Regions from separate parts of the Homo sapiens genome. Here regions 2, 3 and 4 are each linked to region 1. The links are contacts of gene promoters, found by promoter capture Hi-C in blood cells and fetal thymus (Javierre and others, 2016). All regions are on one chromosome and are shown on one strand. The core of a region is centred on a gene start or on the middle of the fragment in contact, and the rest is flanking DNA. Distances in the headings are between cores, read along the strand shown.

Region 1 (6,408 bases), core at 2,826-5,325:
TAAGAATTGATAAGTGTTTTGTGAAAGAATCTGCAGGTTCTACCACTTAAAAATAGAATATTCAGAAATAAAAGTTATGTTAAATTACGAATCTTGAGTAGTTCAAAACTTTTACTTTAAAAAAAAAAAACTTTTCCTAGAAAACTCTAAAAGTAGATTTTACTAACAACAAAAGCAAAGGATGCCACCTGCTTTAGACAGCCCTTTTGTCAACCACTGGAAGTCCCAACACAATGCAGTAAAAAATGAAAGTGACACCTGTTTAAAGCAGCCATCTGTCCCTAACAAGCCAGATTTAGTCAAATCCACTTAATCTTGGATTTCCAAAATATGGGAACACTATGTATCTGTGAATAGAGAGGAATTTAAAACATACTTTGTCATGGCCACTGGGAATATATACCAAAGAGTTAAAGGCAAATTACTCAGTTATGAAAACTGTTTTTAAGGTAACTGAGCTCAAATAGAGGATTTTTAGCCAAAGGTTCAGCATTAAAACAAAATAACCAGGAGCCTCTCAAAAATGTTAAAGTTTACTTCTTCCCTATTCTCATTTCTTGTAACACATTCTCACTATGGATACTAAGAACAAAGTAATATTCCTATTACTGTTCTGGAAAAGTGTGTGTGCGTGTGTGTGTGTGTGTGTGTGTGTGTGTGTGTAACTTTTGCCACACATCTGCTGCTATGCCCACCCATTTAAACACAAACACACACACACACACAGACTTTAAAATCTGAAAACCAAAAATCATTATATTCTGCCTGCTAATTTCTTCAGCTGGAGAATACCAACACAATATCAACTTTCTCAAGAAATGAAAAATGTTACCAAAAAGTAACATACATTATCATTTAAACGACGCATAAAATCCAACTTGCCTTTAAGATTCATTCATTTTTTAATTGCTATTGTTAATGGTAAAAAAATTAACCATAATAAATTGTTTAGGGTAAAATAAACTGTTCCAGGTTAAAGCACAGTAAGCTTATAAACTATAACCTTTTATTTGAGTACCAAAGCAGAGTACAAGACTATTTGAGTACTGGAGGAATAATACAAAAAAAACTAACCATCACTACAACCTTTAATGAAAACATTGTGAAACGATGCAAAACTTCTAGAAATTCATTAGTTTGCCATATATGTGTATATGTATGATGCCTACACCATTTAATACAATTCATAGGCAAAACACACCAAAACGACTGAGTTAGGCATTATGACATACATTGAATCACAGACATTTGACTATTCAAAACAAGTTACAAGTGACTTCTATTTAATAGTTTTAGTTTCAAAGCATGATCACTTTTACAAATTTCTATTAGTATAAAAACTGAAAACACAAGAGAGTATCAATACATAACATAGTCCCTTCTAGGAAAAATATTAAGAAAGAATAAAGTAAATGCTAAGTATCTATCCTTGTGTTTAATTTTTAAATTTACCATTTCTCAGTGTTTCTGATTATTTAATCAATTCCACAGCAGCTCTAATAGCAATTTTATCCCACATATATGCTTCAAAAAATGGAAAAGTAATGAAATTCAATTTAAGTTCTGCTCTCAAATCAACTTGTGAATGAAAATCTAAATCACAGAAAACCTGAGCTATACATGAGTGAAATGCCTCAAAAAAAGTTCTCAGACACTGTAAATAAAATATTAAACCATAACATTATAGTATATAATTTACTTAACTGAAAACCTATTATGTAAATGGCATAAGGTCTGAAACTGTCCCAAGACAGCAAAACTCCTATTAACTTCAGAGAGAGTTTATAGGACCCAGGAGCTTCACCATCCAAAAGTGTTCAGGCATTTGACACTCATCTGAACAGAAAAAAAAATACAAGTTAGTATTAGAGATTTGCATGGAACCCAGTTTGGGGAGAGGAGGAATAATTATAAACAAATCTGAGTGCTCTGAGAAAGACTTCTTTCAGAACAAAATATCGTCTTCATTTAAAATAGCAATCACAAGGAAATGAATTGAAAAAGTTTTTTTAAAATCCCAACTCTTATTTTACAAAATATTAGCCTTAATAGCATTATAATTACCCACCCTGCTCGTTGACAATCTCAAGAATAATTAGTACTGTCACATTATTCACAAGCTGCTGTGTCAGTTAAATCAATATATGTTTGCTGTTAGAAAGAAGACTATTTGAATAAGCATTTTAAAACTGTAAATTTAAAACTTCAATATGTGCAACTACAATAGTACATTATATTTGTTTTAGCACACATTCATTATCAAAACTCTACTGATAAATCTATTAACTAAAAGTTAAGCTGAAAAAAATGAACAAATTTAGGGGATCTGTAAAACTGGGTTAACGTTAACCAAGAACCTACTATATAAGGACTAATAAGTATTCAAATCTACAGAGAAAAATAATTTTTAAAAGAAATACTTAAAAAGGAAAAAGTTCTCTCTCCTGAGCAGGTTCAAGTCACTGTCCAAAGAAAATCAAAAAGTAAATAAAAAGAATATGTTAAGTACACACATGCCTAGATCTTAACCAGAAAGAAAGTGAAATATACACACGTTTCAAGTTGAGAACCTTCATACATTCTTTATGAACTTGACTTGAATTTCAACTCTCAAAGGAAAATGAGGAGATTAAAAAAAAAAAAACTCTTAAAGTACCATAACTGTCACAAATAACACTGTGAACTGAGTTCTCACAAAGCTTCCTTGTGTCCCTTCCCTGTTCATCACAAAGTCTCATAATCACAATGAAAATTGTTAACACTCTACTGCGGGGAAGGAGGATCATCAAAGTGAAACGGAACCTCACTACTCCCCCTCCCACCTCCACATGAAGGATAAAGCACTGTCAATAACTACTAACCCAAGTATCACAGATGCCCTGCATCCGGTTTAAATCACAAGCACACACACACACACACACACACACACACACACACACACACACACACACACCAAAGAAGAGAGAGGAGACAGACTTTAAAAAAGAAAAACATCTTTCCCAGTACAGCAAAGAGGGCCCAACGAACAGGCCCCAGGTTTCAATATGTGTGCAAGGGGTGTGTGGGGGGGGGGAGAAAGAGGGGGAGGGAAGAGTGCTGAATGGATGTTAAGACTGTTTGCCGCACAAAGAAAATACAGTTTTAAAAAGAAAAAAGAAAACCATGAAGCTGATGATGGTGAAAGAAGAGCAGCCCATTCAGCACCAGGCAAAGAGGGGCAAAAATGAAGGGAATGGGCGGTGGGAAAAGTTCACCAACGTATGAGGATTAAAAATAACAAAACCCATAACAAGGCCCCACAAGTGAACAACAACAACAACAAAACACCACCTCTTGGGTCCCCCCCTTGCACACTGTTGTCTATTTCGGCTTTGAAAGAAGCAGGAAACAGCAGCGTTGGAAAAGAAGAAAATTAAAGAAAGAACAAATTCTTATCTCTTCACCTGACCCTCCTCCTCAGACCAGACCTAAGGGAAAGATCCAGCATCCGCATCGGAAAACTGTGGCTCCCTCTCCCGCTCGGCTCGCAGCCCCCCAAGCTCCCGCTCCATCCCTGAAGTGCGGCCGGCGCAGGGCCGGGGCCGGCGGGCGGCGCGGCGCCCACACCCCCGACCCAGCCGCGGCGCGCAGGGTCCATTGTAAACAAGCCCGGGGAACAGAGCCCCTCGGCGGCGGCGCCGCAGCGGCAGCCCCCGTGTCAGGAGTGAGACCCCAGCACAGCCACACTCGGCTCGCACACACGAACACACACACGCACGGACACACGCGTTCACACGCAGCCACACGCTCCCACACACATGTAGAGACCGAAGAATATTCACCTTGGCTGTGGATTATTGTGGTGTTGTTGGTGGGTGATGGAGATGGTGGTGGTGGGGAGGAGGAGGAGGAAGAGGAGGAGGAGGAGGAGAGGAGTAGTTGTTGTTGATGGGTAACAGTCGCCAGGACTACGGTGACTATGGCGCTTGATTCACAAGGCAACGGTTGCTATAACTCACAAAAGAGAGAGAGAGAGGGAGAGAGAGAGAGAGCGAGAGGGAGAGGGAGACACTCGCACGGGGAGGGGTGGGGGAGGGAAGAGGGGAGGAGGCGGGCCCGGCCAAGCCGCCGGAAGGGGAGGGCGCAGCGCTGTGACTGACGGCCCCCAAACCCGGGTGGGGTGGCGGGGCGGCGGGGTGACGGGGCACGAGGCCGGGATTCCACCGCAGGACTCCGAAGAGGTGCGCCTATGCTTGGCTGGGGCTGAGGTCACCAAGAGTCCTCTCGGAGGGACGTTACTACACGCGCTGGCGAGGCCCAGGAGTCGTGGTGCGAGGGGTACTATCTGTGAAACGAGGGCTGCCTGTCCCAGCAGCCAGCTTTGTACAGAGACGTCCCGGAGCCACGAGAGAGTAACGGCTAACCCGGGGGAGGGGGTGGCGAGGGTGATTCCAGGCACTTTGTGAAGAAACGAGCTATGGCGAGGGAAGAATCCACTTTGAAGAGCGGCCCCCGCCCTGCCCGATACGTTACTTCCGGGGCGGGGCGGGCAGAGGGGCCCGGATGTGCCGCCGCTTTTTAGTTTCTGAGGCGCCGGCGGTGTTCCTGGTAGCGTCAGCCTCCTGGCTTTTCCTTTTCCTGGACGCTTCAGGGCTCCGCGGCCTGCGCTAGACTGGAGGGTCCGCGTCACTCTCGCCCTCCTGCTTTCCGCGCTCTCACCCGCTCCCGCCTCCTGAGGGCACGACTTGTGGAGGAGCGCGGGCGGCGGGGCGTGAGCGAGCTGCCTCTGCCGCCATCTTAGAGAAGGCGAGCGTGGGGTGTGCGTGGGCGCGAGTCGGCCTCCCGCGGTGCCGCCGCAGCGTGGCGCGGAGAGGTGAGGTCCAAGCGTGTCCGGCCCTCACTCCATAACGAAAAAGCGAGGTCATCACTCCCTATCTACAAGGGATGGGAGTAAGTGCCTGTAGAGAGCAAGAAATTGCCCTGCCCGGAGGCTGAGAAAGCGCATTTGGCGGTTCCCCTCGACGGAAGGCGTAGAGGGGCGGGGTAGCTTACACCTGCCTGCGATACCATCCTGTTAGTTTCTAGTTCTGTTAGTTTCAGCCCTTAAGTGCTCACCCCTCTTTAAAGACCGAACTGGGAGTTGAGCTCAAGCCCGGATCCTGTTACCTGCCGTGCTCTCATCCCCCGTTACTCAGCCTACTGTAGCTGAGGGTCTTGCTGTTTGTGGCTGTATTGAGATAGACGAATGGCTTCCGTCTGTGTTGAATGTTGTTAACACAACCTGCCATCTCAAACACCCGTTGATAAGGCACAGCCTGTAATGCCTCATGGTTCAAACAGACTCCTCCAATTCTCTGCAGACTCGAGTCCAGCAGGCACATGCCCCCAGGCCCTGCCAATACCCAAAATCTCCCAACATTTGCCGCTAAGCTGCTTAACCAGGACAATGACATAGTAGAAGTAGAGCCTTAGGAAGTCAGTTCTCCTCTTGAGGCTTAATTTTTGCACCTGCAAGTAAGGGATTTGGGCCGGCATGCGTTCACCAGCGCTAAAATAATACTGAGCTCATTCTGTGTCCCAGAACTGGTGCTAAGTGTTTTACATACATTATCTCATGTAATCCCAACAACACCAGTGTTAGGTAATATTCGCATTTGAGGAAAAACAGGCCGAGAGTCCTAAAAGTCGGTGGTTTTAGTTTATGGCTGCGTGCCATAGAATACAAGGTTACCTTGTTTTAGGAACCAGCTACTTTGGGTACGTTTTTAAAAGTAATATTGTTGCCTTTGATAATCTCATGAGTTAGAGATGTTCTTACAATAATAATGTGTTGCAGTAGTGAACAGTGGTGAGCCTAGTGCTAAAGCTAAAAGGTTTCCTGACCCACTGTGGTAGTAAGGGCTTCTAGTCAGACAAATGATTGTGTGGTGACCAGTGTGGGTCCCATTTGACATACAGATGGGAAATGAGGTATACGTTCCAGCTTTATGAAAACTGGTAGTCGTTATGAATATTCTCTTTATTATATTTACTGATAAAGTCCTCATTCCTATAATGGTGTGTAGGGCTGTATGTTCACACTACATGGCTCTCTGAATAGCTTTGTTTTTTTAAATTCCATTGTCTGTTATAGTTTGCCTGTCCCGTCTTTCATTGTCAGCTGTTGCTTTTTATTTTTGTCAGTGAACATAGTTCTATTATCCTTACCGCCCTTTTAATTTATTGCTCTTAATCTGCAGGCAAGAAAACCACATAGTGAACCTTGTGCAAAACTGTATCTCAAGAGTATAAATAGGTACTTCGAGGGACTATTAAAAAATAAGTGCAACCCTTGTGCTAGGACATTATAGAATCAGTTTTAAGCTGCTTAAATTTTTTTTTTTTTTTTTTTTTTTTTTTTTTGCCTTACAGATTTGGTCTTTTCCAGAG
Region 2 (6,408 bases), core at 2,126-4,625, 810 kb after region 1:
CTGTAGTACCCTAAGTAGCCCGGGGTTAAACAAGGGCACTTTCAACACGGCTTAGGGTTTTAGTTTAAACCTGAAACATCAGGATCTATTTAGACCTCTCTTAGAGGCATCCATCCCTTTCAAGAAGCCTCAGAACACACTTGGCATCCCCTGGGTCCCTTGCCCTACTCTGAATTGCCCCAGGGTCCTTCCCCCATTGAACCAGATTTAACAGGATAAGGTGATTCTTCCCTCATTCCAGCCTTGGTGTTTGTATCCAGTTCCAAGAAATTCAGTTAGTTAATACAGAGCTATGACAACCTAAGGTAAAAATTTGCGGACTTCGGTAAATTTACTTGGTGACAGGTGATGAAGAAGAAAGGGCAGGGAGCAAGCAGTTAGAAAACCTGAGTTTGGAGATGATGTGCTGTGAGATCTTGAGTAAGTCATTACACCTCTGTGGGCCTCCATTTCCCAATCTGTTTGTTACCCATAAGCCACATGGCATGATATTAAAGTAGGGTCACAATAGCAGTAGAAAGCAATAGTTCTCTGGCTCTAGCCCACTGCCAACTCTTCTCCCTGACCTAATCTTGGGAGTCTCCAAAAAGCATCTCATGTGGATTCAAAATCAGTCCTCTCCATGGCCACATGTGATATATGGGTTTCCTCTTCTTTAGCTCTGAATACTTTCAGAGATCTCTATGGCTAAGCTATCTATCCACTAAGCCCCTGGTGCTGCTGTAACTAGCATTAAAGTTGCTCCACAGGGCCAAAGCCACCAGGCCAGGCCAGGTCACCAATACTCTGGGTGGCAGTTCTGGGTCAGGGACCTGGATCCCTTAGGATCATTGCTACAGTTTCTGGTGCCAGACCCTGAGGGCACTGATACATGTGTCGGGGTGTTGATATCACCCTTTCTCTTGGCATCCTCACATGAGCCCTGAAACTGAATATATAGTTTCCGTTTTATGGAAAAGGAAAGTAAGACTCAGGAAGATAAAACAACAAAACCAAGACTGCAAAACCAGTAAGCGACAGAACTAGGGTTTAGACCCAGATCCACCTAACTCCAAACCTTGCCATTCCTCAAAACTATCACTTATGGGAAACGTGCGATGTTCACTGCTCCAGAGCTCATGTCCCAAGTCCTATACAATTTGTATATTCCTTTAGTTGGCAAGTTTTTATGATAGTAGAGAGATGTTCATACTAATTACACTACAGATCTGCTAAAAAGATCTATGAAAAGAGGTCTACAAAGTTATCTGTCAATTCTACATGAATACTCATATATTCTGATAAGGAAGACACTAACTCACTAAATTCCAAGAGAAAAATAGATCAAGTAAATGGACAATTTCCAGAGGACAGAATATAAATGACTAATAAATATTTAAAAATCTAATATTACTAGTAAATGTTTTTAAATGCACTAAAATGAGATACTACTTTTAACCTATCAAATTAGGAAAAGAAAATACTCAGAGTTGGTAGTGTCATTGGCTTCTAGTGCACAAACAAATTGGTACAACTTTTCCCGAAAGTAATTTGGCAACACATAGAATCATTAAAAGTGCAAATCATTTAACCCCAAAACTCTCATTCTGGGACACAGTCCTGAGGAAATAATCAGAAGCTCAGAAAAATACTTTATCTACAAAGACCTTCACCAAAGTGTTAATTATTGTAACAAAGCTGGAAATAACATAAATGTCTAACAATCAGAAAATAGTTAATTAAATACAGCCATATGATTAGATAGTATGCAGCTATTAAAGTGATATGGTCAAAAAATTAATGACATAGGAAATGTTCATTTGAAAATAAAGATACAAAATCGTACGGACAGTATTTTCATACTTTTGATTTAAACGAATGAAGGCAATATTTTGCAATGATTCTGAACATTTCTATGTACTCTACAATGATGTATATTTCCTTTATAATCAAAAAAATATATCTAACAAACAAAAAGCTTCAGGCTCCTTCCGGTCATTTTTTCTGACATGCTGAGTTGGACAAGGGCCTCAAGCATCACTGAAGTAAAAGAACATGGAGGATCCCTTTGGGCCAATATCTGACTCATTCTACCATATCACAAGGCCAGACAAAAGCTGATTAATGTTCATAATAATGATCACAATAGTAGCATAATAGTAGAGGTGGTAGCAACCAGTTTTGTTTACTCAGTACCAGGCTCCACTATCCATCTTTCAGATATGTTGTATCATTTAATCCTCACAAAACTCTATGAGGCAACTATTACCCCCATTTGAAAGATGAAGAAACTGGGGTTCAAAGAGATGAAAATATTTGCCCCAAACCACACAGCTTATGTGACCAAGCAGGAGCTAGGACCCAGATCTGATTTCCCAGGATGGTTTGCTCTTTCTCTAATGTCTAACTGGTAAGATTGGCAAGGCTGTGTGTGTGTGTGTGTGTGTGTGTGTGTGTGTGTGTGTTTAGTTTTGAAATGCAAAAACTGTATTTGTCCATAGCATGACTTCTTTTCACAGGAGTCAGGACACCTGATTCTAATCCTATCGCTTCTCCTGACTAGACAAGTTTCCTTGAACAAGGCATATCCCATTGAGATTTTGCTGCTGCTATGTGTTGGCAGTGTTGGACTAGATGAGTTTCCTTTAAGCTTAGCTTGTTAAAACACAGCTTTCAGGTCTTTCTGTAGACCTACTGAATGAGACTTTCTGGTAACAAAATTATACGTATATATAGAGAGATAGATGGATTTCTATTATATATGTGTGTACACACACACACACACACACATACACACACACACACACACACAATTTTTTAAACAAGCTCCCTGGATTATTCTTATTCAGGATGAGAATTCAGCTCAGGACTGGTATTTGGGAGTCACCATACTAGACAACCTATGAGGTACTGTTCATATCTACTAGTCAATGACTGTATAGGGCCCCAAACTTGAAGTCAAGATGTGGCTACCACTGAATTTCAAATAGGTCTGGAAGAATCTAAAGGGCATGTGACTTGTTCACAGGCATTGTTCTGCATGAAGTTTGGGGACAGACCCAGGGAGAAAAAGGAACTGGGGGAAAATAGTGTAAGTACTGGAGATTGGTTCCTGTAGCCAGCCCCATGGGAGAAGGAGCTGCAAGTAGAAAGTAGAGGAACCAAAAATATAGCCTCATATTGTATCACCTAAGGAGCCTGGAAAAAGCACTGTTGCTTGGGTCCCAGCTCCAGAGATCCTTATTTAATTGGTTTGGGGTATGTGCCTGAGTCTTGGGATTTTTTTTAAAGCTCCCCAAGTGATTCCATTTTGAAGCTAAGATTGAGATTCTGCATTAACACACAAGGACACAAAGCCTTCAAAATGAGACGGCTTTATGTGTTACAGGCTTACCCTTAAAACTATGTTGAAAAGCGGCATTTCAAGGACCCTCCTGGTGAGTTCATGAAGCAAAATAATCATGTTCAAAACAATTGAGACTGTCCATACAACACTACCTCGATATGTTTGGGAGGATAAACTCAACACCTCAGTCATGATTTAGTGGCTTGGCTTATATATTTGGTGGCATAGATAGAATTCTGTCCCCAGGTGTGTAAGTCACATGAAGCCAGTCCTCAATGACTGGATTTGTCTTCTTCACTGAAGTGAATTGATCTGTTGTTTTGTCACTATGTAGCTAAAGCCAGTGGGAGGGTGCCAGTTATTTGGAGAAAATGTTTCATTTTGAAGTACCAAAGACAGCCGATGAATTGTGTTCATGAAATACATGCTTCACTCTACTTTTTAATTTGCTCCTGTTTAAGTTAACTGAGAGTTTCGTCTTTATTTTTAAAGAATGACATTTATATAGACGTTCAAACTGCCAATCTGTTACATAAACAGCCTTGTTTTTTGAAGGGCTGGCGCCGCCTAGAGGCCAAATAGGTGCAGAGGTTTGGATTGCTAACCGGAAAGAACCTCTCCAACCTGTTGCTTCTGGTCCTTCTGTGATCCGTCTCTGTTGTGTGTATTTAGGGTCAGGTAAAGCTAATCAGACTTTTCATTGAGCAAAGTTTCCCAAGCAAGGGTGGAGATGCCACAGTGACATTTCAAAGCCAGATAACAATGCAATGATGGGATTTGGGAAGTTTGGTACAAAAGAAGCTTCTCACTGGGATCAAAACGTGCCCAGAGAACCAGAAACTGTAGGGGGAGGGAAGGGGGAGGGGAGGGGAGGGGGAGGGGGGAGGGGGAGGGGAGGGGAGGGGGTAGGGGAGGGGTGGGGGAGGGGAGGGGGAGGGAAAGGAAAGGAAAGGAAAAGAAAAGAGACAGAAAGGTAAAGCAAGTTTTTGGTGGGTAGTTTCCTAGAGTGAACTTAAGAGCAAACATTCTCTCATTTGGTATTGACCAAGACACAAAGACTAGGGAGAAGTCAACATTTAATACCAGCTGACAAGCGGCTTTGCTTCTTGCTCATCAGTGAATTCACCATGTCCTCACGGCTTGGCTTAGCATGAGGTTGATATTCCCCTAGAATCTCTGGATCTATTCCCTTTTTCTACAGCCTTCTCCATACTTTTAATATTTTCTTTCTTACATGGCCAACTTTTAATTACCACAGGGGAACAGAGTTAGTATGTATTTTTTAAATCTCTGAATAATCCAAAACGTCTGTACCCAGATAGAAGTTTAGGAATTACAAATCAAATGAGAAAAAAAAAAAAAAGTATGTCATTTTCCTTTATTTGCCATGACTGATGTCATCTGACTTTTGAGCTGAATAGAAGTGAGGGGGTGGGGGAAAACTTCAACTTCCCAATTAAAAGGCAACTCAATTCCAGGATGAAACATTCTTTTATTTTGTCTTACCCAGTGTCTTTGGGGCAAATTCCTCATCTTTCAGGATGCATCCTCCATCCCTGTTCTCCTTGCCCGGATGGTTCCTGGGTCTAGGGTTAAGCTTCTGTGTATTTGTGGTGGCAGGACAGCAGGAATGAGGGAGTGAGGGTGATGGTCCATGTGCTCATCTCCACATCCACGCTATTAACCACCATGGACACTTGAACCTGGAGACCGTTGTCGGAACCAGATCCCACCTGATTCTTGTTTTTGTTTAATTTTTTTGGAGACAGAGTCTCGCTCTGTCACCCATCACCCAGGCTGGAGTTCAGTGGCACTATCTCAACTCACTGAACCTCCGCCTCCTGGGTTCAAGCAATTGTCCCTGCCTCAGCCACCCAAGTAGCTAGGATTATAGGTGTGGGTGACCCCTCCTGGCTAATTTTTGTATTATTAGTATAGATGGGGTTTCGCCATGTTGGCCAGGCTGGTCTCAAACACCTGCCTCGGCCTCCCAAAGTGCTGGGATTATAGGTGTGAGCCACCGTGCCTGGCCTCACCTGATATTTTAGCAACTCTGCAAACACCCACAACTGGCATCTGACATCCTTGAATAGCCTCTGGACTGCAAGTCTTTCTTCCCTCTAATCCAAATGATCTGTTATCTCTTCTGGTCCAATGGTATGCTTAGAACTTATGTGTTTCCTTTTTGGGGACAGACTTTCCTAGTTGCATTATCTGATCCACAGGCTTGTGCAATACTCTCTAGGACAAAACAAGACTGCTCTCTATCCATCTACTTCCACTTCTTCTTCAGCCATTTCCAACCTATCTGGCATCACTGGAGCTTAAAGCTCTCCTGGCTTGCACTCACACGAGTGAAAGATAAGCTCTATTACCCTGGGATTACACACTTGTAGTTATCAGGCAACATCTGACCCTGTTCAAATCAACTCTCCTTCTTCTCCAGGCTGATGTGCACACAGCTCATTGTGTGCTGGAGAAAAACTCACCATTGTGAAGACTTGTCTCATTTCACATTCAAGGTCACTGATCTCCAGTAGATCCTTAATGCTGCCCTATATCATTTTTTCTCCCACTCTCCTCCATGACTTATTTCCCTCATTCTCTTCTGTCCTCAGACCCCTAGCACTTCCTCACCTATACTCACTTCCATCCAATGCATCCAATCCAAGCTCATCCCATTTATTGATAATTTGAAAACCAATAGAAAAAGACCACAGTCTTACAACCAGTGCCTCTGGCCAGCTCTGATAACTGTGCCCAGGTACTCTGCCTTCCCTCCTATGAACAAGCAATCAGTTCTAAGGAAAATTCCTCCACTTCAGCATTAGATCCCATGGCCAACAAATGGGATCTCCGCTTTTTTTTCTGTCATCACCTTTTTCCCACGTTACTGATTAAATCTCATAACAGTTAAGCATACTACATGCTTGTTGACCACGTATATGTCTTCTTTTGAGAAGTATCTGTTCATGTCCTTTGCCCATCTTTTAATGGGGATGTATGTTTTTGCTTGTTAATTTGCTTAAGTTCCTTGTGGATTCTGGATATTAGACCTTTGTTGGATGCATACTTTGCAAATA
Region 3 (6,408 bases), core at 583-3,082, 770 kb after region 1:
CCTACTCCCTGTGATTCCGGAAGCACCTCCCTACCCCTTCCCCAGGTTTACATGCTCCAGAGATGAGGGCCAAGCGGATACCGGGGCAAACTAGCGTGGGGCTCAAGGAGGCACACAGAGCAGTGGTCTCAGTCCTCGAGACCACTCCTGCCAAGAGGAGGGCTGGAGAAGTCGGGAGAGGTGCCGGGAGCGGGGGAGAGGCGCGTAGGACAAGGCAGGAGGAGGGCGGCCCTTATCGGTTCCCTATAGGACTGGCTTCGCTGCCGGGGTCGGAGATTCCTCGGCGCGGAGCTAGGGGCGGGTCCGGAGGCGGAGGCGACAGCGCCCGGCGGGGTACGCGCGGCTGCGACCCCGTCACTCCCCCGCCGCCTCCGCCCCTAACCCTCGGCCCCGTGCGCGAGCGAGCGAGGGAGCGAACGCAGCGCAACAAAACAAACTAGTGCCGGCTTCCTGTTGTGCAACTCGCTCCTGAGTGAGTCGGGGGCCGAAAGGGTGCTGCGGCTGGGAAGCCCGGGCGCCGGGGACCTGCGCGCGCTGCCCGGCCTGGCCGGAGCCTGTAGCCCGGGGGCGCCACGGCCGGGCTCGCAGTCCCCCCACGCCGGCCCCCCGGTCCCCGCCGAGCCAGTGTCCTCACCCTGTGGTTTCCTTTCGCTTCTCGCCTCCCAAACACCTCCAGCAAGTCGGAGGGCGCGAACGCGGAGCCAGAAACCCTTCCCCAAAGTTTCTCCCGCCAGGTACCTAATTGAATCATCCATAGGATGACAAATCAGCCAGGGCCAAGATTTCCAGACACTTGAGTGACTTCCCGGTCCCCGAGGTGACTTGTCAGCTCCAGTGAGTAACTTGGAACTGTCGCTCGGGGCAAGGTGTGTGTCTAGGAGAGAGCCGGCGGCTCACTCACGCTTTCCAGAGAGCGACCCGGGCCGACTTCAAAATACACACAGGGTCATTTATAGGGACTGGAGCCGCGCGCAGGACAACGTCTCCGAGACTGAGACATTTTCCAAACAGTGCTGACATTTTGTCGGGCCCCATAAAAAATGTAAACGCGAGGTGACGAACCCGGCGGGGAGGGTTCGTGTCTGGCTGTGTCTGCGTCCTGGCGGCGTGGGAGGTTATAGTTCCAGACCTGGCGGCTGCGGATCGCCGGGCCGGTACCCGCGAGGAGTGTAGGTACCCTCAGCCCGACCACCTCCCGCAATCATGGGGACACCGGCTTGGATGAGACACAGGCGTGGAAAACAGCCTTCGTGAAACTCCACAAACACGTGGAACTTGAAAAGACAACTACAGCCCCGCGTGTGCGCGAGAGACCTCACGTCACCCCATCAGTTCCCACTTCGCCAAAGTTTCCCTTCAGTGGGGACTCCAGAGTGGTGCGCCCCATGCCCGTGCGTCCTGTAACGTGCCCTGATTGTGTACCCCTCTGCCCGCTCTACTTGAAATGAAAACACAAAAACTGTTCCGAATTAGCGCAACTTTAAAGCCCCGTTATCTGTCTTCTACACTGGGCGCTCTTAGGCCACTGACAGAAACATGGTTTGAACCCTAATTGTTGCTATCAGTCTCAGTCAGCGCAGGTCTCTCAGTGACCTGTGACGCCGGGAGTTGAGGTGCGCGTATCCTTAAACCCGCGCGAACGCCACCGGCTCAGCGTAGAAAACTATTTGTAATCCCTAGTTTGCGTCTCTGAGCTTTAACTCCCCCACACTCTCAAGCGCCCGGTTTCTCCTCGTCTCTCGCCTGCGAGCAAAGTTCCTATGGCATCCACTTACCAGGTAACCGGGATTTCCACAACAAAGCCCGGCGTGCGGGTCCCTTCCCCCGGCCGGCCAGCGCGAGTGACAGCGGGCGGCCGGCGCTGGCGAGGAGTAACTTGGGGCTCCAGCCCTTCAGAGCGCTCCGCGGGCTGTGCCTCCTTCGGAAATGAAAACCCCCATCCAAACGGGGGGACGGAGCGCGGAAACCCGGCCCAAGTGCCGTGTGTGCGCGCGCGTCTGCGAGGGCAGCGGCGGCAGGGGGAGGAGGAGGCAGAGGCGGGGTGGCTGGACCCTCGGCATCAGCTCATTCTCCCCTGCTACACACATACACACACAAATAATGTTTCTAAAAAGTTCAGTTGCGACTTTGTGCCTCGCCTGTCCTGTTCATCCTCGTCCTGGGCCGGGGAATGCTTCTGGGGGCCGACCCCGGGATGCTGGCTAATTGCTGCCGGCGGGTTCCGTCGCCGGTGTGACCCTGGACGGCGCGGACGGCGTACAGGGGGTCCCGGGAGGGGCAGTGGCCGCGGCACTCGCCGCCGGTGCCCGTGCGCGCCGCGCTCTGGGCTGCCCGGGCGGCGCAGTGTGGACGCGGCTGCAGGGAGAGGGGAAGGGGGAAGAGGGAGGGAGGAAGGCAGCCGGGCGAGGAGTGTGGATGTGTGTGCGGCCGCGAGGGCCGGCCTGTAGCCAGCTGCTTCCTGAGTGTGAGCGCCGGAGGGGGAGGGGGAAGAGTGGGGGCGGGCTCGCGGGTCACTAGGCTGGCCAATTCGAAGGCCGAGCTTGTGTCTCCCTCTTGACGCATTCACACACACACACACACACACACACACACACACACACACTCCCCGTGCGCCAGAAGTCGAGGAACTCCAGAACAGGGTAACAGCAGGGAGACACTTCGCCTTCTTCCTGGCCTTATTTGTTAAACTGACTTATTTTAACATGAAAAAGTGTTAGTGTTTAGACAGGATTTGATGTCAGGTCATAAAAAAATAAACAAACAACCAAAAAAATCCGGTAGTAATACGGAGAGAATAACACAGTGAAAAATGGCAAAAGGGTTGCTTTGAAATATCGGATCGGATGCACATGACAGCTTCGAAACTGGATAGGTGAAGCACTAAGGAAGGCTTTGGCATCCTTTCCAAGTATAGGCAGGGAAGAGAGGAAGGTGATGGAAGTGTTAGAAGGGTATAAAATTCTGAACACAGGCTGTTAAGAATGGAGGTATATTCCCTGCGTATGTTACGTCTATAAAGTGGCACTTTATCCTTATGAATTCAACATCCTCAGCCTCATACCCCACCTAAGCTCTGACTCGCCACCGCTTCTGCTTGTGTTGACCAGAGCCCTCAAAAGGTTGTTACAAGAAAGTCTGCTCCTAGTAGTTCATCACATGTATTGCCACAGATGCAAGGACTTCCATCTTGGGAATCTAGGTATGTAATGCACACAATATCCTCCAGGTAGGCCTTTCTGCAGTTGACAGTATTATTCACCATCATGAATGAAATGAGTGAGGATGCCACCAGACACTTAGAATTTCACAAGTCCTTATATTCTATTCTACTGTTACCACTCCAATATAAATTAGCAATCAGGTAGTAGATGCTTTGATCAAGACAGAAGTCCTCAAGGACACAAATGACTTACCCCAGAAAGCCAAAACTAAAAGACTATTGGCAGTTTTCATTTATCTAATTTCAGTGGGAATACTACTAGGCTTGGTCTGTATCCATGATATTAACATAACCAAAAGAAGCCTGGTTTCCACAGTACTTTTTCTTTTCTTTTCCTTCACCTTGGGACACAAACTCATCAGAATATTTGTCAGCAGAAGTAGGGGATGAAAAATAGTAAGAGGTCAGGATATGTCATTCTGTCAGTTTTCCAGTTTCTCTCTGTTCATCTCTTTTAAATACAAGTATTCAAGCCCAAGATGGCAATAGATGGGCTCAACCACACGTAAGAAAAGAAAATACTCATAAAATGAAGCATGCAGCAACATCACAAAAACAAAGAAACCAAGTGGTGGAAATTGCCATGACTATTCCATTGTGGCTAGTTATTGCAACATGCCTGACATTCACATAAAAACTCTTCCTCATTAACTCCAGCCTTAAGGAACAGAGCAAGATGGCAACACTAACCCTTCAATGCATCATGGGAACTTCTGTTCATCAGATTCTTGTGCTGTACAACTGCTTCCCAGGAGCAAGACAAGCCTGGGTGGAGACTGCAAAAAACCTTTCCAATGTCCCTCAAATATCATTTTAAATACAATGGTTTTGATGCATAGAATGGTATCCTAGGGGCTTGCAGAAGCTTCTAAAACTTCCCAAATGATGGGAACAGCTTAGCTGGAAGAGAAAAAAATATAGTGCTACACCCAACTTTAATCAATAGCTCATGGAAAAAAACACTGGGAAAGTTAGGAGTCATCAACCTGGAGATCCCCAAAATCTCTTCATTTATAAGAGCCCAAGAGTGGGAATGTCATTTTATTTAGGTGTGATTTTCATGAACCTCTAACATTCCTAAAATATTTACCACTGAAGAGGTATAGTGCTTTGGTTGAATTTTTTTCTTTTTTTTTTTTTCTGGCCAAGAATGTAGATCTGCAATGTTCTTATATTCCATGGGTTATAGTAAAAATGCAGTTGTTCTTGTACCAGTACAACCCTGGAATGACTCAGAATGAGATCTGTACCTCTTCTGGGCTGAATTGGTCAGCAGGGGTGAGGGAGGGTGGTAATGAGAGACAGTGAGAAAGGAAATCATGTAGTTCCAAAATGATACTCTCCCTTACCCATGAGCTCTCCATCGTGCTTAGGAATCATACTCTGGCAGCCCTTCAGCCAGATAGGTGGGAACTGCAGCCCAGTCAGTATCTTCCCTCTCTAGAGACCAGTGTTGTATGTGCCTCAACCGCTGACTCAGGGCAGCTGACTCAGCAGACAGGCCCCTGCTGCCAGCTCCAGTCCAGTTCTCATTCATCAGAGAAATATTCAGTGAGTACACACTCTGTCCAAGTATTGGGACTAAAGGAATTAACACTTGTAGGCATTGTATATGGGAGGATATTACAGAAAACTTTTTGCCCAGTGTCTTAGTTGTAGCAAACCCTCAAGAAATGGGGACTCTTTGCATATATTACCTCATCTAATTCTCAAATCAAATGTATGATGTGGCTATGAATAATCTCCTACTTAGAAGCAAAGAAGTTGAAGCTCAGTAAACAGTTAAAGAGAGTCAGAGACAGAGCCAAGTATGCCAGTTTAGAAGCCCCAAGTTCAATCAACATTACTGTACTACAGAATAATTGTGCATGCTCTTTGAATGTGTATAAAACATATTGCAGGTGTATAAAGTGCAAAGCATCTTGTGGTCAGTGTTAGATGAGCACAATGAAGTTTGTAGGGAGTGTGGAGGAGGCAGGAATAATTTCCTGCAATGTGACATGGAGTAGCTTGGCTGTTTGAGCTGGACTTCAAAGAATGAGTAGAGAAGTGATAAGCAAAGGAGACCATTTCAAGTATAGGAATCAGCATCAAAAGGGGCACAGAAGGCATAAGTCCTGCATAGCAAGCAGCTCACTCAAAGCTAGAGTACAAAATAGGAACATCCACTGTCTCACAGCAATGAAACTCTCCCGAAGGAACATCCTGACAGCAAAACTTCAGAACTGCTATTTGAGTCACCCTGAGTGCTCTGACAGTAAACCACTTACAAACTTGCAAAGAACTATGATCAGATTCCTCCTCCCACAAAGTGTCCGTGAAAAGAAACAAATTTGAACCCCAAAATACAGATAAGTTGAGCTAATAGCACCAGTGATAGTATGCCTAGCTATTAAAACACAGACACACACACACACACACACACGAGCTGGCAACAGTCCAGTTACGTAGAAATGCAGTGGAAAAAGTTAGTGTTTGCCAACTTTAAGGGGGGAACTAAATGTGTAAAATGGAAAATTTCCATTTTACTTTCCTGAGTAGTACAAATAGTGGAATGCAGCAAATTTCACATTATGTTATCAGTGTGTGATATACTAAGAAAACTTAAGCTGATTTTTCTACTAATTTGTCACAAGTATGTTCAGCCCAAACTCTTCGGCTCACATACATGTCAGTGATGTAATTTTTTAAAAAATTCTTATTTACACATATCGCATTCACAACATCATACCTCTTTTCCTTTCTAAAGTCAAAACTGTAAATCAGAGTCTAAAATGTGTCAGACCAAATGCAACTGACCAAAATTTCAAATATTTCACTCCATACAATATCTCTCAATCTTGTCTAATTGGTGAAATGTTTCTTCCTTTTTTATACAAACCAAGCTGAGATGTATCTAAAATTCAGAGAAAGGTTGATGATGTATTCCTTGACATATTACTTAGGTATATCTACAAAGAGCTTACCATAACAAACATAAATTCATAGATAAATACAATATTCCGCAGGCAGCCAGTTATTCTTTCACCATTTAACATCTATACTGGCCAACTATATGTGATGTTGTAAAATTAATTATCTAATCACAATGCCATCTTATCTATAACTACCTTCTATAAATGCCTCTTAATGACCATAACTTACTTTTCTTCATATGCCTTTCATGGCCTAGCAATAGTACTGGGCAC
Region 4 (6,408 bases), core at 3,574-6,073, 680 kb before region 1:
GCGGAATGTTATAAAATAGAGAGCAAAGTTCTGGGTTAGAAATGACCCACTGAACATCGTTGACAGAGATGGGCAGTTTGTTTCAACAGACAAGCACGAGACCTGCCAATACTTCCAATCAGTGAGCAACTTGTCCTGAATCAATTAAAATCAAATCTGTCATGTGTGCACAACACCTTCTCTGGAACTACTATGGATCTGCGCCATCAGAGGGATTTATTGTATTAGACTGGCCTAAGCTCTGTGAAGGCAGGGTCTCTATGTTTCTTGCTCACCAAAGCATCCTTAACCAAGGCTGACACTTAGCTGGGGACAGACTGATTCTTTAAAGCCAGATTCTATGATTAGTTGGGGCCTGTATCCTTACTGATTATTTTTGTGTGTGTGCGTGTGTGTGTGTGTGTTTTGCCCTATCTCCTGGTACAATGCATAGAAAACTCAAATACTCGTTCGATGAACGAATAAATTTTAGCTTATAAAAAGAAATGTTTTATTGAGGTTCCACTGTATAAAGCCATTATAATTTAACTTAACTCCATGGCTAAGGTAATTCAGAAAAGGGCTAAGAAATAAGAAACTCTAAGCACCAGAGGAAAATTGTGAGCATGAAAGATGCTTTGTTGTTTATTTAAGCCACCTACCTGTCCCAAAATGTTACCTGCCAAGGAATAAGAATGTGAGGTTTCTAACGCACCTCCAGAGTCCCTGTGCACAATCGTTCAGGCACTAGTTCAGGCATGAACGAACCAGTACTTACCATCGCTTCTACCATCTGGCTGGAATTTTCTCTTCTTGTTGAATTTATTTGCCGGCTGGAATTTGTTCTTTGGTGATTTGTCCCCTTGCTGCTTATTCTTGAACTGCTTTACACCCTTTTTCCCAAGTTTTGTGATACTTTTCTCAAAGTTCCTAGATGTGACTTTAGGTCCACCTTCTTTAGCAACTTTCCTTGTTGGAAATGTCTTTGAAGAACCAGAATCTAGTGACAATAATAATTATAAGTTCAATGATTCTGGGCCCAAATCTCTTTTATCTATTGGATTATATCCATTACAGAAAATTATACTTTTTAATCCCAATACCATGTCTTACTCTCAAATATGCAACATATAGCCTTTTGAGTAGAACTGGATTTAAACAATCAAAACAAAAATAAAAAATTCTTTCCTTGATTATAAAACCACCTAGAGAGTAGAGAAATGTAAAATAAAAGCTACCCATGATTCTACCACTAAAGATAAACACTGGTGTCAGTTTGGTATGTTTCTCTAGTTTTAAGCATATAGCAGAGCTATTATTTATATACCTTTGTATTCTGCTTTAATGATGGTCTACACAGAATTTTCAAGAGTTCAATAACAAAAGAAGTCTTAAGAAATGACTTCTTGAACATTCTTGAAATTTGGAAAGTATATCATAAGGACATCTAAAATGTTAATTTTAAAATTTTCTAGTTTTAAGAAAATTTTAAAGCCTATATTAAAATTATTTATCAAAAACTTTTGATCAAGAAGGCTTACAAATTAGTACCTAACAAATGAGATGCAAACAGTAATGGCTAACATTAAGGAAACATTAATCATTTGTATAGTCCCTTGACTTTTCTGTTTTACAATACTGACACCTGATGGAATAATAAAGACATCACCATTATAAATTCTGAACCTAAACGTATTTGGCTTATGAGCAGTATGTATTAAACAGTCCTAATTTATCAAATGTTAAAATAAAATGTATGGTGAACTAGTGTGAATAAAATGAGGCAACAGCAGCAACAACTGAGATAAGGAGTCTTTCATGAATAAGGCATTCCTCAATCATTCTTGCAATTTCTTAAGTGTCTAAATGTCATGAGCAACATGTTAACTCATACACAATAACACATACTTCTTCCTACTATTTTAATCCTAATCCTAGCCAATGAATACAGATTGAAATTTACTACATGCCCTCCCATCCCCCAATTATAACAGCCAAACACCCACATGGGAAGCATATCTTACCACTATTTTTATGAAATCTGTTTTTTTCTTGTGCTGTCTTTGTACTCTTTCCTGTGAATTGCTTTTTCCCTTTAACTTCCATCGTAGCAACTCTGGAAAACCAAAACCAAAACCAAAAACAATCACTGCAGTTCTCTTCATCAAATAAGAGCTGTTTCATAGTCATTGCCACATTTAGTCCTTCAGTCTACAAATACAATACAAATCAGCCAGATATAGAATGGACAAGTACTTAAATCCAGCAATTTTGCAATCACTGACTCAAATTTTAAAACTGAAAATGAACAAGGTATCAATAAAAAAACTAAGAACAACACACACCCTGGCCAGTGTTTGATATCTCTGGAGGCATCACTTCACTTCCACAATAGTACTGGCTAAAAATAGACCACTATTGACACTAAGTATAATAAGCATCAGAGTTTGCATTTTGTAACCTGGGAAGACTAGGGGATGAATAACTGACAAAATTATCGCTTGATTTCTTGGAGCCTAAAAAGCCAGGAACAAACAATAGGCTGCATGTACCACTACATGCATTTAATATAAGAAAATAAAGGATTATCTGAAAGATTCCTATGCAATCCAACACAGCTAAAACAAAGATTAGCATCCAGTGTTTAATCTGTGATTGTTTTAGACGCAGCCAAGCAATTGGCAGTGAACTCCAAAATAAGATGTTGAAATAGTTAATATTTCATTGAAAGGAATCTGTCTAATAGGCGCTTTATAGGCTACTGAGACACCATGGTGCACAGGATAAACAAGTTATAACCCCTCACCTACCCAAGGTCCCTGAAAGCAGCAGAACAGATCAAGAGAAAAAGCCATTTGGCTCATTTCTCCACTTTCCAAAGTTGGACGATCAACTCATTTGAAAGCTGGCTGTAAACAACAGATGTTAGGGATCCCTAGACAACACCAGATATTTCTAGATTAGAATTGCCCATTCAAGAACTAATTTCTCAGGATATTACCATAAGAGAAAAGAAGGGTTCTGGGATAAAATATATTTGGGAAACAGTAAGTTAAATGACAAGAATCAGCCCGTAAGAAAAGGCTTTTCAGATTCTTTAATTTGCTAATATATACAATCAATTCTCAAGCAAAGGCTAAAGGATGCAGGATTTTCCAACTCCAGTTGAACCACTTTTTCCTGGAACATCATAAGGGAACAGCAGACTTCCAAGGAGTACTCTGGAAAGTGCTGTTCTAATCTAGACTTTTCTAATGATTTTGAAAAATGGACAGTCCCTGAATTACTCAGCTTCCTCAGGGCATTTAGAACTGAAGGGTCACATTATTACTTGGCTATGGCCATCATAACCATACCTGCATCTCTCAGCTCTTCTACACCTGTAGTTTTCTAAGAATCCATTCATTTACATGTTTTCTCTGTATGTTTGTTCTAATTTTTATATTGAAATAATTTTAGCTTTACAAAAGAGTTGAAAAGATACACAGTTCACATATACCCTTTCCCCAGCTTCCCCTAATGTTAACATACAGTTAACTAAGCTACAGAGTTGAGTTGGAGTTTACCAGTTTTTCCACTAATATCCTCTTTCTGTACCAGGATACACTGAATCTGGCCATCAAGTCTCCTTTGTATTTTGTAGAATATTCCTCATTTGGGGTTTGCCTGATGTTTTCTCATGATTAGGCTAAGGCTACACATTTTTTGGAAGACTACCAGAGGTCAAGCTTTCTTCTGGTAGTACTCTATCAAGAGGTACATGACATTAACATGACTTATTACTGTTTATGTTAACCGTGTTCACTTGGTCAAAGTAGTGTTTTCCAGGTTTCTCCACTGTGAAGTTGCCACTTTAACCTTTCCATCTTTATTAGATCCAAACCACCAAGTCCAGCCCAAAGTCAGAGGAAAATTAAGCTCCACTTCCCAGAAGGAGGGGTACTAAAGAATCCAGGCATACGTTAAACTACCACAGCAATTAATAAACATTTTAGACAAGATGTTTGGAGAATATGTAGACATCCTATGTCCTCCTAAGTTTTACCTGCTAACTTTAGCATTTGTCGGTGGATATCGCCTGCAGCAATTACTGCATTTAAATGGTGATCTTCTATTTCTCTTATTACTTTTGCCTTTGTTATTCTCAACTTTTCTGTAGGGAAGACTTGTCCCATCTTTTCCATCTATTTACTTGTATCATATAGTCTCAGATATTTATTTCATTCCTTGGTTATAATCCAATACCACTGTTATTTTGTTGCTCAAATAATGCTAGCTCCAGCCAGGGGGAAGTTTCTCAGGTTGCTTCTGTGTCCTTTTGACGCGGCCCAACTGTTTTGTTTTGCTTTTAAAGCACATCCTTATTTCCTGGCACTGGCTCCAGGTTCCTTCTGTATTTTCCTTAACCTAGCCCTGAAATCAGCCACTTCTCCAAGGAATCCTGGTTCCTTTCATTGAGAATGGTATTTAAAAACCAAGATCTGAGTGCTAGGCGCACTTGTTGTCACTGAGGTGTCCCTGTTTCTATGTCCTTTCGGCAGACAGATTCAGGAAACACATATATGTATATTAACTTATGCATATGCACATACCTATATTTATTTTTATATCTATTACAATAACTTGAAGCTCATACTGATGTTTCCAAATCTAATCAAGCACCACATATTTTCCTCCAGGCATCTCCTCTTGCTCATTTGTAACTTCCTTCTCTGACAGTGAGCAACCTGCTTCCCACCATCTACAATTTATTTATACACATATTCCACCCTACTATACATGCATAGTTTCAGAATTGCTAACCTGTACCCCGTGAGAAATAAATTTACAATGACAGTACAGTGTTGACGTACAATTCTTTTTTGTATCCATTCAAAATACTTTTCCAAAGTTACTTAGAGGCTTGCATGGTGGCTCACACCTGTAATCCCAGCACTTTGGGAGGCTGAGGCAGGTGGATTACCTGAGGTCAGGAGTTCAAGACCAAACCCCATCTCTACTAAAAATACAAAATTTAGCTGGGCATGGTGGTGTTGCAAACATGTAATCCCAGCTACTCAGGGGGCTGAGGCAGGAAAATCACCTGAACCCAGGAGGCAGAGGCTGCAGCGAGCTGAGATTGTGCCACTACACTCCAGCCTGGGCAACAGAGTGAGACTCTATTTCAAATGTTAAACTACCATAGCAATTAATAAACATTTCAGACAAGATGTTTGGAGAATATATGGACATCCTACCTCCTCTTAAGTTTTACTTGCTAACTTTAGCATTCAAGTCAGTGTATTCTGCCTGCAGCAATTACTGCTGCAGGCCAAAAAAAAAAAAAAAAGGTTCTTAGATCAGCCCTTCGGCCCCTCACCCTCTTTAGTGAAGTTACATGTTTATAATATAGTTTAACTGATTTGTCACAGCCTGCATTCCATCCCCAGAAATGCTGGCAGATTTATTAAATGTGCATATAGTCAAGTTTACTCTTTCTGGTGTATAATTCCACGGGCTTCAACAAATGGCTAAGACTCATGCATCCACTACCACAGTATCTTACAGAAAAGTCCTGTCACTCTAAAAAGTCCCCTGGTACAGCTCCTTTGTATTCAACTCCTTCCCTCTTTCCTGACTGCCAATGATTAGGTTTTCACTCCTGTTTTGTCTTTTCCAGAATGGCATTCTTATACATGGAATCATACAATATGTAACTTTTTGAGTCTTGCTTTTTGCACTGGGCAAAATGCAATTTGCTTTGCTTGGGAACCCTGTACCTTCGTAATGAATCATCACATTCAATAGTGTCTCTTGGAATTCGCCCCCCTTTTTCCTTTCCCTCTATTACCCCATTCAGGCTCCTGTTACCTCTTGCTCAGTTTTGTTTAGATCCTATCTGCTTTGATCCACTTTCCGCTGCCTGATTAACCTTCCAGTAGCACACCTATTTCATGTCATTTCCATGCTCCAATAGCTTCAAAGCTTTCCCACTGCCTTCAGGAAAAAGTTCCAACTCAGGCATTCACAGCCATTCAAAATGTGGTCTTAATTCACCCCACTCATCACCACCACACAGGAGCCACTATTCTTATCAGAATAGTGAAGTTTAAAGCCATTCTCTCTACCAACACAATTTCTACCCATCCTTCAAATTCAGTTTAAATGACATTTTCTTATAGACCAACCTCTACATGTTAGCATTCCTCAAATCTTTGCCCTAGGGAACTTCCCTTCTCTCTCCACACTTCTCCCTAGGTGGTCTCATCCAATCTCCTGGCTTTTTATGCTGAGTACTCCCAAATCATGTCTCCATTATGAACTTCTCCTTGGGGTCCAAACTTGTGTATAACTGCTTATCTGATACCTCTAATTATGTGTCTAACAGGAACCTTACCCTTAATATGTCCAAAACATAATTCTCTATGTTGTTCTTTATGTTATTGTTGT

The links. Contacts are between HindIII fragments. The CHiCAGO score rates a contact against its expected background, and 5 or more counts as called.
Region 2: a fragment that was not itself captured here is called in contact with the fragment with the promoter of RFX3 in region 1 in 5 of 17 cell types (naive CD4 T cells, naive CD8 T cells, total CD8 T cells and 2 more); the score reaches 11.6 in naive CD4 T cells.
Region 3: a fragment that was not itself captured here is called in contact with the fragment with the promoter of RFX3 in region 1 in 2 of 17 cell types (M0 macrophages and naive CD8 T cells); the score reaches 5.6 in M0 macrophages.
Region 4: a fragment that was not itself captured here is called in contact with the fragment with the promoter of RFX3 in region 1 in 1 of 17 cell types (fetal thymus); the score reaches 6.8 in fetal thymus.

What each region holds. Positions count from the first base shown.
Region 1 is chr9:3,521,926-3,528,333 of GRCh38, forward strand. It overlaps RFX3 (regulatory factor X3), which reads right to left and starts at 4,076. Exons shown (of 17, transcript NM_001282116.2): 1 at 3,822-4,076. It overlaps LOC124902110 (a long non-coding RNA gene), which reads left to right and starts at 4,560. Exons shown (of 8, transcript XR_007061398.1): 1 at 4,560-4,852. RefSeq lists enhancers at 3,217-3,833, 4,411-4,460, 4,721-5,020 and silencers at 3,521-3,610, 4,041-4,230. The HindIII fragment of the contact is 14,491 bases long and covers 2,698-6,408 here.
Region 2 is chr9:4,335,620-4,342,027 of GRCh38, forward strand. It overlaps a transcript of GLIS3 not described here. Among named protein-coding and RNA genes, the nearest start is that of GLIS3, 39 kb to the left of the region's middle. RefSeq lists an enhancer at 3,770-4,064. The HindIII fragment of the contact is 1,497 bases long and covers 2,628-4,124 here.
Region 3 is chr9:4,297,646-4,304,053 of GRCh38, forward strand. GLIS3 (GLIS family zinc finger 3) reads right to left here and starts at 2,423. Exons shown (of 11, transcript NM_001042413.2): 1 at 1,776-2,423. It overlaps GLIS3-AS2 (GLIS3 antisense RNA 2), which reads left to right and starts at 1,656. Exons shown (of 4, transcript NR_186824.1): 1 at 1,656-1,778. The HindIII fragment of the contact is 4,501 bases long and covers 1-4,083 here.
Region 4 is chr9:2,836,423-2,842,830 of GRCh38, forward strand. It overlaps PUM3 (pumilio RNA binding family member 3), which reads right to left. Exons shown (of 18, transcript NM_014878.5): 2 at 2,004-2,095; 3 at 758-979. The coding sequence starts at 2,085. Among named protein-coding and RNA genes, the nearest start is that of PUM3, 4.5 kb to the right of the region's middle. The HindIII fragment of the contact is 2,236 bases long and covers 3,706-5,941 here.